Linked DNA regions of Homo sapiens: all the other regions are linked to region 5. Evidence: promoter capture Hi-C in 16 types of primary human blood cells and fetal thymus (Javierre and others, 2016). All regions are on one chromosome and are shown on one strand. Each heading gives the region's core, a stretch centred on a gene start or on the middle of the fragment in contact. The rest is flanking DNA. Distances are from core to core; before and after follow the strand shown.

Region 1 (2,700 bases), core at 188-2,687, 190 kb before region 5:
CAACTAAGCTGCATGCTCAAGTGGCTCAGTTATCTATAGTAACTAGTCCTTCTGCACAGCTTCCTCTTTCTCAGTCCACACTGAGGATCTTGTGGGGAGTTCCGATAACTTGGTAACCACGGAAGAAATATTTCAGGCCTGATTTATGGGTGGTTCTTCACAATATTCTTCACTTTAGCAATTTTGACTCAAATGTGGAGTGTCTCTGAAAGATAGAAATCAAGAGAAATTTACGCAGTGGGTAGAACTTTGAGCAGTAATTCTGATTGTGTACCTTCTCTAGGTAAAGAGATGCCCTGAGGTATAGATTTACAGTATTTCATGAGCAGCAGCTAACAGGTTGACCAGGAGGTCACAGACTTTGAAGAACAAAATAAAAGGACTAATGAAAAGGAGATCTGGGACAGAGGTATAGGAATGGAGTTCTCAGGCTGAGCACAAAATGTGAGGATATTTGTGTCCCATGTGATGTTTTTCAAAGGGCAACCACCGCAGAGAAGGCCTCCATTAATCAAATAGATGAGTTGAATCCTCCAGTGGATGTTAGTCAGCCTCTTTCCCTAGCACCCCAGTGCTTGCTTAGTGGGCTCAGGTACAAAGTAAATACGGCAGCAGGGACGGAGGTTATTCATGGATTCAACAACATGAAATTCCCCTCACCAAGGGTGATCTTGCTAACCTGCTGAGTACCTAACCTGCTAAAAACAAAGACCCATAGTAAGCCACGAAAAAGGCCTCCCCTCCTAAAAAAACACCAGCTACCTGGTGGCTGATTAATTACATTGGACCCCTTCCCTAATGGAAGGGCCAGCAAATTGTCCTTACTAAACTGATACTTCTGGATATGAATCTGAAGTCCCTTCCTATAATACAACCAACTATGATCCTATAGACATGATATCCCTCACAATATAACTTCTGAATCAGAAACTCATTTCACAACAAAATAAATGTAGCAATGGATGAAATTCATAGGACTTTCCATGTACCTAATCATCCAGAAGTGGCTGGCTTGGTAGAATAATATAATGACCTGTTAAGACAGTTATGCTGGGTGTGGTGGCTCACGTCTATAATCACAGCACTTTGGGAGGCTGAGGCAGGCAGATCACTTGAGGTCAGGAGTTCAAGACCAGCCTGAACAACATAGTGAAACCCCATCTCTACTAAAAATACAAAAAAATAGCTGGGTATGGTGACATGCATCTGTAATCCCAGCTACTCAGGAGGCTGAGGCATGAGAATCACTTGAACCCAGGAAGCGGAGGTTGCAGTGAGCTGAGATCGCACCACTGCACTCCAGCCTGGGTGGCAAGCGAGACTGTCTAAAAAAAAAAAAAAAAACTCAGTTATTAGTCCTGGTGGGAGACAAGCCCCTGAGAGACTTCAGTGCTATTATACAAAATGTAGCATATAGTTTGAACCAGTGATCAGCATAGTTGTATTTCTCCCATTGCCAGAATACATGGGTCCAGGAATCAAGGGATAAAAATAGGACTGATTCCTCTCAGTAGTATACTTAATAACCCTCTCACAGAATTTCTAATTCTCATCCCTGTAAACTTGGACTATGCTAGTTTACAGGTCTTAGTTCACAAGGAAAGAATTCTTCTACCAAGGCACATAAAATGGTTCAAATGAATTGAAAATTGAGACTGATGCCTAGATATATTAGGTTTCTTATCACACTAAACTAAAAAACAAAGAAAGAGATCCCTGTATTGGCTGGGGTGACTGAACTAGATTATTATTACGGATATTGGGTTGCTGCTACACAATGAGGTCAAGGACCCCAGGGGAATCTCTGGATTGCCTCTTAAGACTTATTTAATAGTGAAAATTAATAAGCACCCCAACTACTAAAGACTCAGACCCATCCAGAATGAAGATTCAGCTACCCTACTAGGTAAAGAACACTTGCCAGCTGAAGTGCTGGCCAGGAGCAATGAAAAATTAAGTAGAGGAAGAAGTTACAAATATCAACTACAGCTTCATGACCAGTCAGAAACAAGTACCAAAGTAGTTATGTAAATGTGCTTCATTGCTTGTTCTAAATATCTTTGTATATAGTAACTATTTTTTTCCTTCCCCCTCTCAAGCCGTAGGAGTACAAGGAATGCCACTAATACTAATGATAGGGAACTTTACAGTTTAATCTTCAAGCTACAGAATATCTAGGTGGGATTGTGACTAAACTAGAAGAATTAACACCAATAAGAACAGTAGTAACTGGTGGGGCTGTTTCTCCCCTTTCTGAGGGAATGGTGAGTTTCATAAAGAACAGAGTTAAATCTACAAAGACAGAAGCATAAAACTGTTATTGCTGCATAGAAGTTTAAATATGGGTAGAAGGATGTGTGTGTGGATGCTTAATAGCTGAAAATAAGTGTCCTGGTTGGTTATTTTCTGTGGGCACTCAGCCCTCTCCCCATTTCACACACAGTCATCCTTCTATAGTCAGCTCTGTTCTCCTGAGGCTGAAATTCTGCAATCTACTTTCCCCAGACTTCCTTGCCAGCTTGGTTCCTGTTAGGCTTGTCAATAGAAGGCACTTCTGGGAGATCAGAAGGTAGCACAGATAGCACTGTGATCCTTGTTGGCAGTTGGTATAGCAGCAACAGGGGTGGAGTGATTCCAGATTCAAATGGACCAGAGACAGTGCCTATTAGCAATTTTAGCTCTGGTCTAGGCAGCATTTGA
Region 2 (2,700 bases), core at 134-2,633, 230 kb after region 5:
CGGCTAATTTTTGTATTTTTAGTATATTTTTAGTATACAAAAAAATAGTATATATTTTTGTATATTTAGAGATGGGGATTCACCACGTTGGCCAGGATGGTCTCCATCTCCTGACCTCGTGATCCGCCTGGCTCAGTCTCCCAAAATGCTGGGATTGCAGGTGTGAGCCACCATGCCCGGCCAAAGTAAATGATTTCTACTTTGCAATAAATAATTGGAGTAGAAAAAAATACACACTAATTTATAAAATCACCCCGTTAGTAATAATTCATAAGTTACTTCTTGCTAGCTCTAGTGTTCTTTGAAGACTACGTGTATTTTTATTGCTTGCTGAGTTTTCTCCTTATTTAGCCTGATTTCTAATCCACTGTCCATAGGCATACTGCAAATAGTCCCTCCATGTTTTTATCGCTGGCCTCCGTAGACTGTAAGCTCCCTGCAGGCAGGGGCTCTTCTGATATCTCCTTCCCACAATGCCTAGAAGAGTAACAGATGCACACCAAGTACCCAGTAACTTTTGTTTAGAGTTAAGGAAAAAGTATGGAAGCTTTTACCTTGGAGGAACTGGTAGCCTGGGACACAGTGAGTCTGCTTTTGGACTGTGGGTATAGTTGAAGGAATTCAAACTATAAACACACAGGAAGGACCCTGGAAGCAGAACACACAGACATTATACCTTCTTTCCAGGTGAGTCAGTAAGGAAACCACAGCCATGTTACCAAACCAGAAAGGAGAAAGAATCAACTACAAGGTCTATGGGTGACAGAAACACAAAAGTAATAGGCATACAATCTGAGGTCTAGTGAGGGCCTCTCTTCCTTACTTTCTCTTCAAAACCCCAAATTCAAAACTAAAAGTTATATGATTGGTCCTAAAATAATCTGAAGCATATTTGAAAACAATTTCTTGTAGAAGCTTGATAGTTTAAACCTGGCTTTGCAAATAATTTTTAAAAATCTGGCAAACCATTTCTCAGACAGATAAAATTCTAAACAGTGGACCCAGTACAAGGTATTTTAGTTATACAAGTGCTTCTGGTACAACTTGTGACATCCCACTGCTCAGTGGAAGTATCTATTGGCCCCAAAAATCTCATGAAAAGACCAATTTGTCAGCAATTCTACGCGCAGCCTGCACGTACATCTCTAGGACCGGATGTGCCCACGTGCATGGAGCTCTCTGCCTTCCTTCTGACACCGCCTTTGGGTCTTAAATGTGGGCTGTCTCCTCTCTCTCTCTGTGGATGACCATTCCCTGCAGTGGCAGGGAGCATACACGGAATAGCTAGGGCTTCAGATAAATCCAGATAGAAAAAAAATAACCTGAACAAGCTCAAGAGAAAATGCTTACGGCCTTTTCCACACAAAAAGAGGCACCCACAAGGAAGTAAAACTTCCAGCTTTCCAGAGAAAGCAGAGTCAGGGTAAATGATCTCATCTAGGTCCCCACAGCTTACCCCATCATGGGGAAAAGAACAAACCAGGCCTTAGTGCCTACCACTGGTGTTTGCAAAGAACTGGACCTCTTCCAGGGAGTCAAGCTGCTCTTCAGGGCAGTTGGATACACAGAGGGCCATGCGGTTGAGCTGCGTACCTTTGACTTCCAGGTTGCAGGAATTCATAAAGAACACGTGTCTAGGAAATAGATGAAACAGAAGAATGTGTTAGAGCATTGCTTCTCACTGGTCTTAATTGTGGGCCTTAAAAAATATCCACATGCTATCAAATGCAGGGATCACCCAGGCACACTTTCATAATTGTTTCAGCATAATTGAACATTTATGATGCCTACTGGTGGTCATCCATGAAGCTGTGCAGCTTGGAAACTATCCAAAAACATTAACAAAGCTTTATTTCTCCAGATTTAGTGTTGTCTAGGGGATAGCACTAGGGAGTTACCTGAGAAAATCTGAGGAAAAGAAGCAATTGGTTAAACTGTCCATTGATTGCTAGATCAGGCCAATGCACAAACTATTCAATGGACTCCACGGAGAACACATTTGTACCCAAGAGTGTTCAAATATGCTTCAGAGAATAACTGAACACAGGGAAGTGAGAAGTGGAAAGGAGGGGGCCAAGGCTGGGAACCAAAGGCTTGTCTTTTCCCCCTTCTCCCAGGTTGAGAGCCAGGACACTCAGGAGAACCCTCCTGCAGCTCCCCAGGGGCAGGGCAGAGGGGGGACAAGAATGAAACTGGTGTTGCCATCAGCAGGTTATGCGCTAGCAGCTACAGCTTCCAAACCCTTGCCTACCACTTATCCAGGCTCCAAGACCCCAGGAATGGCAGAGGAAGACCCCGTAGGCTGCCCTTTATGGGAGAGACCTTGAGAAGGGGTCCCAGAAGGTTTTTTTCCCTCCTGTTGGGGATGGGAGAAAGGTGGTGCAACAGGAGATGAGGAACAGATTTCCTGGGTGTGTGATATACATATTTTTGAAGAAGTTTAAAAATTGTGTTAAAATATACATAAAATTTACCATCTGAATCTTTCTTTTTTTTTTTTTTTGAGACAGAGTCTCGCTCTGTCACCCAGGCTGGAGTGCAATGACACTGCCACCTCTGCCTCCCAGGTTCAAGTGATTCTCCTGCATCAGCCTCCTGAGTAGCTGGGACTACTGGTGCCTGCCACCACACCTGGCTAATTTTTGTATTTCTAGTAGAGACAGGGTTTCACCATGTTGGCCAGGCTGGTCTTGAACTCCT
Region 3 (2,700 bases), core at 137-2,636, 210 kb after region 5:
AAAAGGAAGCAGAGGCAGAGCCAGCCTGGGTTCCAGGTCATTTGATGGGAAACCTATGGAAAACTCTCTGTCTGACCCTGCTGCCTCCTTTCCAAGCTCACCCCTTTGTGTATCCCAAGTACACGGTGTATGCTGTGTGCAGTCCTGTGATTAAATCTTCTAACTGCAGCACAGACCTCGCGGGAAGTCCACTCCCTGCCAAAATCCAATATGGTTCTCTTCTATTGTACAGACTCTGGAGCTTCCAGACCACCTTAATGAACACTGGAGGTGACCAGGTCATCTGAGCTCTTTCCAACCTACCAGATTACCAAGGTTACCACAGTTTTCACTTTTTCCTATTGGATTTTAGTAATTACTGTCTTATTGCTGGTACCAGACAAATCCCAATGGACTACTAAATGTCATTGTTGGGTGGTGCAAGATGGGGGCTTGATATGACCTGCTGAAAAAAAATCCCCAAACAAGTCAGAATTTGTCAACTAGTCAAAAGAATGATTAACAGTCATTAGAAAAATAGCCCATCTGGGCAAAAATGATCAACCCAAGTTCACTCCTATTTTTTTTAATGCAGTAAAAAATAGTATTCATTCAACCATCTGACACAACTATTTGGGTGGCTCACGCCTATAATCCCAAAACCTTGGGAGGCCAAAGCAGGTGGATTGCTTGAGCCCAGGATTTCTAGACCAACCTGGGCAACACGGCAAAATCCTGTCTCTACAAAAAAATACAAAAATTAGCTAGGCATAGTGGCATGTGCAGCCCCAGCTACTGGGGAGGCTGAGATGGGAGGATCGCTTGAGCCCGGGAGGTTGATGCTACACTTGAGTCTGAGCAACAGATTGAGGCCCTGTCTCAAGAAAAACAAACAAACAAAAACCAACAAAAAACAAAACACAAAAACAAACAAACAACTATTTATGTACTGAGGACGCCCACACACAAAACTGGGCGCTAACTGAAGAGTGTGTCTGTCCCCGCTGAAGCTGCCTGTGGGACGTGGAATGAGACAATCGGGCACTGTGCAGCGGGCTCGCCACCCGATCACCTGGCGCCTCTTCATAAGAGGTGAAAGCGGCTCAGAGTCCCTCTCAAGTGTTAGCTGGGGCATCTTCTGAAGATCAAAAAGTGATTCAGCTGCTGATCTGCCCAGCCGCAGAGCCAGGCTCTCTGGCACTGGTGAAAAGGCCTCTGAGAACAAAGGGGACCCTGTGCACCTGGGTCGGCCACAGGCAGGTGGAAGGAGGGGACGGGTGATTTGGTTTCTATGATGCCTGACCCCAGCGGGGTGGGGAAGGGGGGTGGTGGCTCTGCGTAGCACCTTCTCTCCTGAGAAGCCTAAAATCGACCTGCTCATAGATGCCTCCCATAGGTCCGGGGCACCCAGTTTCCTTTCTGGCCCCTCTACTGTTCTCGCTGTTTGCTGCTTGCACTAACAGTGAATCGTCACACTTCACTGTGTGATCCTGAGAGGTGGCTGCAGAATGACACGCTACCTTCAGCCCTGAAGAATAACCTCCAGGTCTCTCTTGCAGTGGAGGCTACTAAGCCCTGGGCCCAACCTAGACCTAGTCAGGGGCACAGGCTGGCAGTTAAGGGGCACAGGCTGGCAGTTCATGCCCAAGTCAGCCTTGGGGCTTGCTCCTTTCTGACTTCACTGGCCTGGGCTCTTCCCTTGACCTCTGTGGCCAGGTCCTCTCCTTGTGCTGCCTTGACTTCTGCTGCATCCCCCTTTGCCTCTTTCTGTATTTTCTGACCTGGCGATTTCCAGCCTGCCCTCTAAGAAGCCCTCCCTGACTCACAGCATGGGTTACGGCCTTGTTCTGGTGTTCCCATAGCTCCCCAGATTTCTCTGATCATCACATCCATCAATCTTCACTGCGATCACACGTTTCATTGTTGGACCATCCTGCTTGACTATAAGTACTGAGGGCAGAGAGTCGACCTCAATCCTGTTCCCTACCTCTCCCTAGTGCCGTGCTCAGCGCCTCATCCCCACAGTGCCCACCAAATACTTCTGAATTAAATTAAAACCATCCCTGCTCCAAAACATCATGGGGTCTAGCCACAGACACAGTTCCCCTTATCCAGATTCACAGCCAACAAGGGGCCCCCTGGCTGGGCCAGCTGCACCTAAGGAGGTGGGAAGAGGAGGGTCCTTCACTGGTCCTGAGCCATATTTCCTAAGACCTCACTGTTTCTCTGATGATTCTCTAGAGGCTAGGGTTCAAGCCCTACAGTGCTGCTGCCCAGGGCCACTGCCACCACCTCCATCACACCTCATCCCCAGCTGGCTCTAGCTGTCAACCTCCAGCCCCAGACACATTATGGGCACAGCCCACATCCACCAGCCAACTGCTGTGGTCCCTGATACAGCTTCATTCTGAGCAAACTTGAAGAGGCCTATTTTTTTTTTTTTTTGAGACAGAGTCTCACTCTGTGGCCCATGCTGGAGTGCAGTGGTGTGGTCTCAGCTCACTGCACCCTCCGCCTCCCGGGTTCATGCTATTCTCCTGCCTCAGCCTCCCGAGTAGCTGGGACTATAGGCGCCCGCCACCACGCCCGGCTAAGTTTTCTGTATTTTTAGTAGAGACGGGGTTTCACCGTGTTAGCCAGGATGGTCTCGATCTCATGACCTCATGATCCGCCCGCCTTGGCCTCCCAAAGTGCTGGGATTACAGGCGTGAGCCACTGCAC
Region 4 (2,700 bases), core at 141-2,640, 190 kb after region 5:
TAATGTCACTTATGAGTTTGGAAACATTTTGAATTACCAAGGGAAATGGTCCTGGATTAATTAAGGTGGTGAAAGTTCAGAAGGCAGGAAAATACGTATCTCAGGATAACAGGGCAGAGGAAACAAATGTGAAAATGGGACCAGAGGTTTTCAAATGTGTTTCAGCAGCAGAGACCTGTCCTCAAATGAAACCTTCAGTACACTCCCACACTCCCACCCCTAAACCACATAAAGTGGAGCTGCTCAGGCCGCAAGGCCAGGCAGTATAGGCATGGTATATGGGGCCAGGGCCCACCCTTCCTCCACCTCAGCCATTTCTCTGCCCTCCTAATGTGGTGGTCCCCACAGTGTCCACAGGAGCCTCTAGGCTTCCAGGGGCCAGTATGAAAACCATGAGTGAAAGAGGGATGCGGAAAGTACCTGAATTCCCGTAGTACAGTGAGAGGGGATAACAGGTCAACCCTCGGGCCTTGTAGGGCCATATGGCCAACATATTTGTATATCAATGGTCCCATTCATTGCTTTTGTCTTTCTAGTCTATCTATATGTTTCTTAGACTTTATTTTTCATGCATATATATTTTATCATAGTTAATACATTTTTGCAATGCATCTCAAAATATTTATGAAGTTGCCGTCTGGATATATACACAATAGCTATAACATCTTACACCACGACAAATGTATTCAAACGGTTTGGACTGACTTGTTATATGTTCCCCCCCATTCTGAAAGGTCCTATGGTATTTGATTGTGTTTTATACATGCTGGCTTATAGCAATCCAAATGAAAACTAAATATACTCTAAAATGTTCTCCAAGTTTAAGAGCCTAAAAATAGACCTTACTATAAGAAGGCTACATTTTTCCCTGAATAATGAAAAGTATTCTAAATACCCCTTAAAAGACATTAAACATAGGTGGTCTAATTAGTCCCTTTACTTCTAAAGGTACATTTCTTTGGGAGGGGGCAATTATAAGAAATACTTTTCTAAGTGAGATTTCTGTGAACATTTAAATTATAAAACAGTTTGCTAACTTACAAAAATACTGCTTTGTGTAAATTTGACTAAGGACTATTAAAATCTCCTAAATGCTCTATAGAGAAATACAACATATTTAAATTTCCATCAATTTGAAAAATTCAGGAAAGGAAAAAAATCTGAAATCCAAACAATTGCAAGATATAATTTTTATAATTTTAAAGGCATATTTACAGCTTGAAAAGGAAAGACTGGTGAAATCTATGAAAATTAGGGAGGCAATTCTTTTCCTAGTTCAGGAAAATTATAGTTCTTAGAGAAGACACTGAAAATTAGCTCTTAGTTGATATATATTCATTATGCTTAGGGTTTCTAAATACTCCCTTCCCTCTTTATTTCTGAAAAGAGAAAAACTTTCTTTTAGAATTTGAAGCATGGCTTTAAAGGCCTATGGTTCTAGGGTAGGGTATGCAAACTACAGCTCAGGAGCTAGCTCCATCACACCGCCCACTTTTCTCTGGCAGGAGCTAAGAACAATTTTTACAATTTTACAATGGTTGAGAAAAAATCAAAATCAAAAAAAGAAAATTTCTTGACATGTAAAAATCATATGAAATTCAAATTTCAGTGTTGATAAGTTAAGGTTCATTAGAACATAGCCACATCCATCCCATTGACATTTTACCTATGGCTGCTTTCCTGCCATGATGGCAGAATTGAGTGGTTGTGACAGAGAGACTGGTCTGAAAGCCTAAAATGTTTACACAATTTAGCCCCTTAGAGAAGAATTTGCCAAACCTTGACCTAAGAGATGAAGCCCACCTTTGGACCCTTCTGTGTGTTCCTGAGGCAAGAGGTAGAGACGTACCTGGTTGAGATGGAGCAGGTATTTGTCAAGACACCAGAAACAGCAGTAGCAGCATCGGAACAGGTACCTGGACAATGCACCATGCTGCTGGATCAGGTTGAGAACAAAGGAACAGAGTCAAAAACAACACAGGAAAGAAGAAAAGCAGGCAGTTTCTGAGGAAACACAGTTTTTACTTATGCACCTGGGGAAACACTGGTGGCGTGGGAGAAGTTCTATTGTGTGCATACTACTACTACTAATTATGGTTCTAGTATTACTGAGGAGCAACATTTCTGTCTTGTGGACTTACGTGTTAGGGGTGCTATTAGGGAGGTTAGTCCATACTGAACAGCAAAACAAAAGCAGGCCTTCTGGTTCCAGTAAAAAAAAAAACCTCTCTTCCCCCTTCATCTGCCCTTAAGTGTCTGAAATGGTACACTTTGCTTTTTCAAACCAAAGTTTATATTCACGAAAAATCCACATCCCAGAAACAAAAAAAACAAATAATACACTGTAGGTACTAGTTATGTGCCCACATAAATAAAGAATCAAGTTTAACTCTGGAGGAAATAAATCCTGTAGTGAGATTTTTTTCAGGACTAAATTTCGAGGGATAAATTACTCCTTTGAAATATAACTTGAACTTGTGCATAGCTTAAGAATGAATACTTTAATGAACCTCTTGGGGGAAGGGTGCTCGGAGGCATCCTACCCACTCTCCAGAGTGAACACATCCCTGAAAACAATCCTGAAATAGCCTAGGATGAGGACCCCAGGAATAACTCAGCCTTATATGGACATTTTCTCATCCCAATGTGAATTCAATTGGATGAAACTTGATCTGGACACTTTTCAGCCTGGCTGTGTTG
Region 5 (2,700 bases), core at 192-2,691:
AACGCAAATCAAAACCACAATGAGATACCATCTCACACCACTCAGAATGGCGATTATTAAAAAGTCCAGAAACAACAGATGTTGGTGAGGTTGTGGAGAAAAAGGAATGCTTTTACAGTATTGGTGGGAATGTAAATTAGTTCAACCATTGTGGAAGATAGTGTGGCGATTCCTCAGAAATCTAGAGGCAGAAATACCACTTGACCTAGCAATCCCATTGCTGGGTATATACCCAAAGGAATGTAAATCATTCTGTTGTAAAGATACATGCACACATATGTTCACTGCAGCACTATTCACAATAGCAAAGACATGGAATCAACCCAAATGCCCATCAATGATAGAATGGATAAAGAAAATGTGGTACATATACACTATGAAATACTATGCAGCAATAAAAAGGAACAAGATCATGTCCTTTGCAGGGATATGGATGGAGCCAGAAGCCGTTATCCTCAGCAAACTAATGCAGGAACAGAAAACTAAATACTACACGTTTTCACTTATAAGTAGGAGCTGAACAATGAGAATACATGGGTACATATGGGGGAACAACACACATTGGGGCCTGTTGAAGGGAGGGGTTGGGGGAGGTAGAGCATCAGGAAGAATAGTTAGTGGATGCTGGACTTAATACCTAGGTAATGGATTAATTTGTGCAGCAAACCACCATGGCACACGTTTACCTGTGTAATAAACCTGCACATCCTGCACACATACCCTGGAACTTAAAAGTTGAAGGAAAAAAAATGGTTGCTTAATTTTTTGCATATTTTTTATTCTTTTAAATAGAGAAAGCAGTTTTTCGTTGAATTCCAATAGTGAAAATTATTTTATTTTTACTTACATACACGAAGCATCCTGTTCATGTGCTTATTGGCTCTTCATTAAAGCTCTCTATCAATGTGTTACGTTTATTGATAATTTGATTTATCTATGACTGCTGTTTCTTCTCCAAATCATACTTGTGTCTGCCTTTGAAATTATTAGTACTTCTTTACCCCTGGTTGCTCACTTCATTATAGCATTTTAGTCAGTGTTTAGAGATTTTTTTTTTTAAGTGAAACTACTTCTTAATTAAGGAAGGAAACTAGAGCTGTTCCTTATGTAGAGTGAGTGCCTTTATCCATCCCTCTCTCTGGGAACGGCCCAGCTGCAGGGCTGCTCTGGATAGTTCAGGGGTGGACAGCTGGCCTAACTCAGACCAATCGAAGTCTTTCTCTGAGCTTTCTGGGCTTGGAGACCTAGAGAATGGAATCAGTCTGTCTTCAGGCAAGCTCTGTAAATGATAAAGCTTGAAAGCTGCTGACAGTCATGTTTTCACTTAGAAGATAAAGGTAGTCTATAGATAGAAGAATGAAGATAATGTACAGGAAGAGAGGAGAAGCCAGTGTCTGGTGCTGCCTTCAGTGGCTCAAGAGGCCCTGCTATAGCTGTGTTGGTCCTGGATTGGTGGTTCTTTTCTTGGGAAATCAGGACCCACTCCTAGAACCCTACCCCACTCCCTTTGTTCCCACCTTTGTGACATACGCACACTCTCTCTCTCTCTCTCTCTCAAGGCTGTTTGTGTTAACTTTTGGTCATTTGTAAACCTTATCCCCAACTAACATACTACTAAAATGTATTCTCAAAAAATCCACGTCAAACAAGATTGGTATATAAATCTGCTTGCTATCATTCAGCTATAGCAAAATGTGTGGTACTTTTTTTCCTCTGTGGAAAATAAGCCAAAGTGATTTCGTTTTTGTTTTAGGAATCAATACTGTATTAGTTTCTTAGGGTTGCTGTAACAAAACTGGGTTTTTGCCACCCATAAACTGGGTGGCTTAAAATAACAGAAATGTATTTTCTCATAGCTCTGAAGGGTAGAAGTCTGAAATCAAGGTGTCATGGGGCCATACTCCCTCCGGAGGTTCTGAAGAAGAATCCCTCCTTGCTTCCTCCTGGCTTCTAGTGGTGGCCAGCAATGCTTGGCCTTCCTTAGCTTGCAGCTACGTCACTCTAATCTCGGCTTCCACCATCATATGACCTTTTCTGTATCTCTGTCTTCACATGCCTTTTTTATGAGGATACCGGTTGGATTTAGGGCCCACTCTAATTCAGAAGGACCTCATCTTAACTTGATCATATCTGCAGTGCTCTTATTTCTAAATAAGGTCACATTCATAGATTCCAGGTGGACATGAATTTTAGGGGGACAGTAGTTATATACTGTGCATCACAACACTTAGAACCAAGTAAGTTGGGTTTGCTTCACATTAATAGTCTTAACTATAAAAATATTTTGGATTTTTATTTTTATTTATTTGTTGTTTTTTTTTTAAACAGAGTCTCACTTTGTCACCCAGGCTGGAGTGCAGTCGTGTGATCTCAGCTCACTGTAGTCTCCACCTCCCAGGTTCAAGCGATTCTCCTGCCTCAGCCTCCTGAGTAGCTGGGAGTACAGGTGCCTACTATCATGTCTGGCTATTTTTTTTTTTTTTTAATAGAGACAGGGTTTCACCATGTTGGCCAGGATGGTCTCGATCTCCTGACCTCGTGATCTGCCCACCTCAGCCTTCCAAAGTGCTGGGATTACAGGCGTGAGCCACTGTGCCCAGCCAGATTTTGGATTTTTATAGTGCCATTATTTTGTATTTTCGAAGTGCAATGTAGGACTAAGCATCTCTGTTCAACTTCCTTTTACTAACAGTCGCCTAC
Region 6 (2,700 bases), core at 107-2,606, 250 kb after region 5:
GTGCCAAGCTCTCACAGTTTCCCACCCTCAATCTCTTCACTCCAACCCCATGCAGGCCCCTGGAGCTTCTGTAGCACTTTGGCCTTAACAGTTTTTCCTCTTCTCTGTGTGTTTCTTCATCCTATACCTCACATTCCCCTCCTGCCCATCTGTTCCTAACTTTCTCATGATTTTCATGTTTGTCTTATATTCTAATCTGCATCTCTTCCAAAGGCCTTTGGCACCTTTTTCTAAAACTTCTAGGTGCTCTCTGAAGATGTTGAGATCTTGCTTCTGTCCCAATCTGGTCACACAAAGATGCAGTTAGGGCCACTCAGGTTGCCTGCTTTGCTTTCAAGTGTCTGACTATTACCTCTTTGGGGCAGGTCTCCCAGATGCAGACTGAAGCTTGACCTAAGCTTCAGCCTGTGAATCTTATTGACACTGTACTTTGGGGCCAGCACTAAGAAAGGCCAGAACTTCCCACCCTTCATCCCACTTTTCCCAGGCTTCCTTACCCTCCTCATCAGCTCCTGTGGCTGAGTTCCCACCATGCTTTGGGCCTGATGCCCTCTGGATAAAATACCATGATGTTAGACTCTGATGGAGCAATTTCTCGTCCCAGACTAAGAAGGGGCTCACCTTACAAGAGTCAGTTATCAGAGGCTCCAGTGCGGGCAGGATCACTGACTCAGAAGGACCAGATCCTTCCCCATCTTGCCTTTCCTGTCAGCCATGGGGGCTTGTACCTCAGACTGGAAGCCAGAGATGAGATGAAGGATGCAAGAGGTCTTGGGTCTTTGTACTTGGTCCAGAAATGGCCCAAGATATACTGGATAGATAAGGAGGCACTGGGGAGCACTTGGCTGAGACAGGGAGGGAGGTGGGGGGAAGGAAACCAAGCAAGGTGTGTGTGCAAAGGACTCCCAGCTCTTTAAATCTGGATCCTGGTCATTTCAGGATGAGGAAGTTTCAGCCTCAGAAGACCTTCTTTTCTCCTTGAAATCTTTGGATTAGAAATCTGGTCTCTGGGGGAACCTTGATTAATTTTAGCCTATCTTTATTCAACAGGGATTGACTCAGCACTTGCTTTGTGCCAGGACTTGGGCCAACTCAAGGGGCACGAACACCAAGAAGGAATATTTGCCCACTCCAGCGAGGTCAAGCTCAGTTGAGGGTTAATGATGAGGCAGGCTGATGCGGGTTCTTTGCCCAGTCCCAGGGTTCCAAGAAGCCTTCCTGGGAGAGGGGGCCTGAGTTGAATGGTGCAAGATGAACAAGAAATGGCAAGATAGAGAAAGGTGGGGAGGGCTTCCCAGGCAGAAGAGAGAGCATGGCTAAAGGGCTAGGGGCATGGAGCAGCAGGGGACCCCCAGCCATGTAGTATCACTGGAGGATGAAAATAAGGGGGAGAAGGAGGGAGGGAGAGAAGGTATACTTCTGAGGGCAGAACTAACTCAGCCGTTAGGGCCCAGCATGCCACACCAAGAAGCCGTTTGCCTTTCTGTGATTGTATCTTTCTCATTTGCTCCCACTTTGTAGAACAGCTTTTAGAAAATGCTACCCTGTCTTGGTTGTGCTCAAAGGACTGGAAGGAGAGGGGCTTGTGTTCCCCTTGTACCTCTGAAGAGCAGGGAGCAAGGGTAGGCTTGGTGGGGGCAGCAAGATTCCAGCAGGAAAATACTTTTTTTTTTTTTTTTTGAGATGAAGTTTCGTTCCGTTGCCCAGGCTGGAGTGCAATGGCACGATCTCAGCTTACTGCAACTTCCGCCTCCCAGGTTCAACTATTTCTCCTGCCTCAGCCTCCCAAGTAGCTGGGATTACAGGCATGCTCCACCACATCTGGCTAATTTTTGTATTTTTAGTAGAGATGGGGTTTTGTCATGTTGGCCAGGCTGGTCTCGAACTCCTGACCTCAGATAATCCACCTGCCTTGGCCTCCCAAAGTGCTGGGATTACAGGTGTGAGCCACCATGCCCAGCCCCAGCAGGAAAATTCTTATGGGGAGGTGAGGCAAGGGAACAGTATAGCCACCAGGCTCCCTTCTTAAATGTGTTCCTTGGAACACAGTCTCTCCTTTAGCCCTGAGGGACTTTCAGTTTGGTTAAAAAATATTTTTTAGTTACAAAAGATTATATATGTCACATTACATTATTTATGTTAATATATTCTTTTGCATATATCAAACATTGCATAATAAAAACTGTAGTACACATGGGGTATATACTAAGTTATAAGGCATAATGACATGAACACACCTAAACTCACTACCCAATTAAATAACTAGAATATTCCCATAATGCTTCTCCTTGGACACAACTCCTGCTAAGCTTTCAATCTCAGAGGTAACCACTGTTCTCAGTTTTGTTTACCCCCTTACTTAAACATACCTTTTTTTTTTTTTTTTTGAGACGGAGTCTCACTCTGTCACTCAGGCTGGAATGCAGTGGTGTGATCTTGGCTCACTGCAACCTCTGCCTCCTGGGTTCAAGTGATTCTTGTGCTTCAGCCTCCTGAGTAGCTGGGATTACAGGCACGCACCACCACGCCCGGCTAATTTTTGTATTCTTAGTAGAGACGGGGTTTTGCTGTGTAGGCTAGACTGGTTTCAAACTCCTGACCTCAGGTGATCTGCCCGCCTCGGCCTCCCAAAGTGCTGGGATTACAGGCATGAGCCACCGCGCCCAGCCTACTTAAACATACTTATTATTTTAGATTATT
Region 7 (2,783 bases), core at 279-2,778, 180 kb after region 5:
CAGGGAAGGCTTCATGGAAGTGGCATACGAGCTGGCCCCAGTGTTGCCTGTCTCCAGCAGGGTAGGAGGCAGCAGCAGGAGCCAGCAACATGAGCCACAGACATGAGCATACCAGCAGGCTACTGGGGGGCCCCAGCAGAGGAGAAATGGGAAACAGGTCTGGAAGAGTCGGGGGTCAGCCCTCGGTGGGTGGGGCTGATGCAGAGTGTGGAGCAAGAGCAGTGAAAGGAAGTTTCAGGAGGACTCACGATTTTCAGCCTGTGCCTCTGGAAGCTCTCCCAGGCTGCCCTGGGGAAGTTCAGGTCAGATCTCCCTCATCACCATCTTCTGCTGAGCCACGAAGCTCTGCACCTTCCAAGGCTCATTCCTATTCAAGCCTAGGAGACTCCCCAAGCACCTCCACAATGCCTACGGGGCTCTGCTGGAGTTGGGTGGAAATGCTGTGGTGGCCATGCAGCCATTGAGCACACCGACCCGCCAGCAGTCATAAGCCAGGGGCTAGGCCCAAAGACCGTGAGTTCTTCTTGGGAGAAAATAGGAGTATTAGGAATAGTAACTCCTCCAGGCACTCTGGCTCCCCTCCACCCCCACCTCGGTGGATGCCTTAGTGATATATCCCAAATGCCTTGGCACAGACCTAATGATAGCTACAACTTTCTAATTTCCATCTGTGGCCTTTTTCTTTTCCAGTCAGTAGGCAGGTGTGCAACTTCTGTGTGTAAATAAATAATAACGCTAATAATAAATAATAATGGCATTAATCTTGCATGTACTATGTGCCAGGCTCTATGCTACCTCTCCCCGAACACATTCACTCATTTAGTCCTCTTAACTCCAACCCGATGAGGTAGTTAAGGAAACTAAAGCACAGAGAGGTAAAGTAGTGTGCCCCCGGTTCCACGCGTGTCATAGATGTTGCGTCCATCTTCCATGAAGTGGACCTCTAACTCGTTCAGGCCCATCTGCTGGAAAACTTTACTTTGAGCTGTACTTTGTGCTTTTTCTCCTGGAAAGTTCAAAATAACAAAGTGGTGTTCTCATGAGATGCACCATTGAAAACAGCTGAGGATGTGGCAGGATGGCTTAGTGGAAAGAGGCTGGATTCCAGTCATGTTGCCTCCAAAGACTTGCGGAACGGCTTCCACCAAATCACGTCACTTCTCAAGGGCCCTCACTTTGCTGCTTGGAAAAGACTTCCACCAACTCCAATGTTCCATGATGCTTTATGTTTGTGCTTCGTGGCCAGTCACCCTCGGATCATCGTCTCATTAGATCTCATCTGTTTTCACCACAACTCAGTGAAATAATCACCATGGGTGGTATTATTCCCTGCTGCCTCTTTTTTTTTTTTTTTTTTTGAGAGGGAGTCTCACTCTGTCGCCCAGGCTAAAGTGCAATGGCGCGATTGTATTCCTGTGGTCAATTGATTCTGCTGCCTCAGCCTCCTGAGTAATTGGGACAACAGGCACCCACCACGCCTGGCTAATTTTTGTATTTTTAGTAGAGACAGGGTTTCACCATGTTGGCCAGGCTGGTCTCAAACTCCTGACCTCATGTGATCTGCCTGCCTCGGGCTCCCAAAGTGTTGGGATTATAGGCGTGAGCCACTGCGCCTGGCCGGTATTATTCTCATTTTATAGAAAATTGTAATTATTGAAGAAAATGAGATTTAAGTGTCCTTTTAGGTAAGAGAAAATCTAGATTACCTATTTAAGTTACTGTGAGAGCTATCCAAGAACGTTAATTGCAGCTTTAACATAGAAAGAGCGTTTTTTTACTCCTGAAATCAAACGCTTAGCCAGCACAGCTCAGCCTTTTGTCCATCATGCTGAGTCTGTCCTCTCACTGAACTGAACTGCTTTCTTCTTTTGGTGGCAGAACTGTGAACCTGGGTTTCTGCCGACTCTTCAAAAAGGTAAACAGAGTTTCCCTCCGTAGTGGAGGGAAGGTATTTGCCAAAAACCATGCCATGAATAGCCAGCTTTATTTCTGGAATGCCTTCCTCACAGAGTTCCGATATTTATTCTCAAAGCAAGAACTACTAAAACAAACTTGAGAAACTGAACAGTGAATAAATAACACTGGCATTCATACTTTCCTCAGAACTGAAAAAAAATACAGTGAAATCCGAGTCCAGATACATCCCCATACATCCAGGGGCCTTCCTTGGACCTACAGTAAAACTGGCAGGAACCGTCCCAGACCAGTTTCATCTTGAGCCCTGTTTTTATCACAAACACATGTGGAGTGAGGCAGTGCACAGCCTCTGGGCCTTCCAGGGCCCTGCATTCACCGTTCAGATCCCTTCAGGAATGCACCGGTCACCAGGATGCAAACAAACATCCAATGAGATGGTGAGGAGGGAAAGCAGCCAGTCCCCTGGGGCTGCAGCCAGGTGGGAGGTGGGGTGGAAGAAGGAAGGACAAACATGAGAGCTGCCTATGAAGCCACGAACAGGGTCGTGCTATTTTGTTTGCTCTTTTAAAACTTTTCTTTTTGCTTAATTTTTAGAATGGCTTTATTATTTCCATGTTAATCTTAAAAAAATCAAACAACACAGAGACAAAGAAGCAAGAAGGCCACTGTGATCCCACCCCTTAGAAATAACCACTGCTAACATTGCTTGGCCTTCACCCCAGCACCCCTCTGTGAATATACACAGAGGAAGAAAGGCAGGCTGGATACACTGAGCATGCGCTACGATAATGAACTCATACTCTCCATGGTATTTTAAATAAAAGGACAAATGCTCATTTGACTTCAACAAACGAAAATGAAACTAA

Evidence for each region. The method cuts DNA at HindIII sites, captures the fragments that hold promoters and counts their contacts. A CHiCAGO score of 5 or more calls a contact.
Region 1: a contact is called between a fragment that was not itself captured here and the fragment with the promoter of ALG14-AS1 in region 5, in 1 of 17 cell types (naive CD8 T cells). The highest score is 5.9, in naive CD8 T cells.
Region 2: a contact is called between a fragment that was not itself captured here and the fragment with the promoter of ALG14-AS1 in region 5, in 14 of 17 cell types (total B cells, endothelial precursors, naive B cells and 11 more). The highest score is 10.1, in total B cells.
Region 3: a contact is called between a fragment that was not itself captured here and the fragment with the promoter of ALG14-AS1 in region 5, in 17 of 17 cell types (naive CD4 T cells, total B cells, naive CD8 T cells and 14 more). The highest score is 13.5, in naive CD4 T cells.
Region 4: a fragment that was not itself captured here is called in contact with the fragment with the promoter of ALG14-AS1 in region 5 in 13 of 17 cell types (total B cells, naive B cells, naive CD8 T cells and 10 more); the score reaches 11.9 in total B cells.
Region 6: a contact is called between a fragment that was not itself captured here and the fragment with the promoter of ALG14-AS1 in region 5, in 2 of 17 cell types (erythroblasts and endothelial precursors). The highest score is 7.4, in erythroblasts.
Region 7: a contact is called between a fragment that was not itself captured here and the fragment with the promoter of ALG14-AS1 in region 5, in 2 of 17 cell types (total CD4 T cells and naive CD4 T cells). The highest score is 6.0, in total CD4 T cells.

The regions. Positions count from the first base shown.
Region 1 is chr1:95,249,991-95,252,690 of GRCh38, reverse strand. No RefSeq gene overlaps it. Among named protein-coding and RNA genes, the nearest start is that of RWDD3, 17 kb to the right of the region's middle. The HindIII fragment of the contact is 8,842 bases long and covers 1-2,700 here.
Region 2 is chr1:94,826,441-94,829,140 of GRCh38, reverse strand. It overlaps SLC44A3 (solute carrier family 44 member 3), which reads right to left. Exons shown (of 15, transcript NM_001114106.3): 4 at 1,498-1,634; 5 at 555-648. Among named protein-coding and RNA genes, the nearest start is that of SLC44A3, 7.4 kb to the right of the region's middle. The HindIII fragment of the contact is 932 bases long and covers 918-1,849 here.
Region 3 is chr1:94,847,953-94,850,652 of GRCh38, reverse strand. The region is part of intron 9 of SLC44A3 (solute carrier family 44 member 3); the gene reads right to left. Among named protein-coding and RNA genes, the nearest start is that of SLC44A3, 29 kb to the right of the region's middle. The HindIII fragment of the contact is 5,359 bases long and covers 1-2,700 here.
Region 4 is chr1:94,866,567-94,869,266 of GRCh38, reverse strand. It overlaps SLC44A3 (solute carrier family 44 member 3), which reads right to left. Exons shown (of 15, transcript NM_001114106.3): 12 at 1,850-1,936. Among named protein-coding and RNA genes, the nearest start is that of SLC44A3, 48 kb to the right of the region's middle. RefSeq lists an enhancer at 2,408-2,700. The HindIII fragment of the contact is 7,895 bases long and covers 1-2,700 here.
Region 5 is chr1:95,060,337-95,063,036 of GRCh38, reverse strand. ALG14-AS1 (ALG14 antisense RNA 1) reads right to left here and starts at 1,441. Exons shown (of 2, transcript NR_132786.1): 1 at 848-1,441. All of the region lies in intron 2 of ALG14 (ALG14 UDP-N-acetylglucosaminyltransferase subunit), which reads left to right. The HindIII fragment of the contact is 7,319 bases long and covers 1,297-2,700 here.
Region 6 is chr1:94,809,878-94,812,577 of GRCh38, reverse strand. The region is part of intron 1 of SLC44A3-AS1 (SLC44A3 antisense RNA 1); the gene reads left to right. Among named protein-coding and RNA genes, the nearest start is that of SLC44A3-AS1, 9.0 kb to the left of the region's middle. The HindIII fragment of the contact is 1,911 bases long and covers 401-2,311 here.
Region 7 is chr1:94,883,800-94,886,582 of GRCh38, reverse strand. The region is part of intron 12 of SLC44A3 (solute carrier family 44 member 3); the gene reads right to left. Among named protein-coding and RNA genes, the nearest start is that of CNN3-DT, 41 kb to the left of the region's middle. RefSeq lists an enhancer at 1,430-2,316. The HindIII fragment of the contact is 5,313 bases long and covers 1-2,783 here.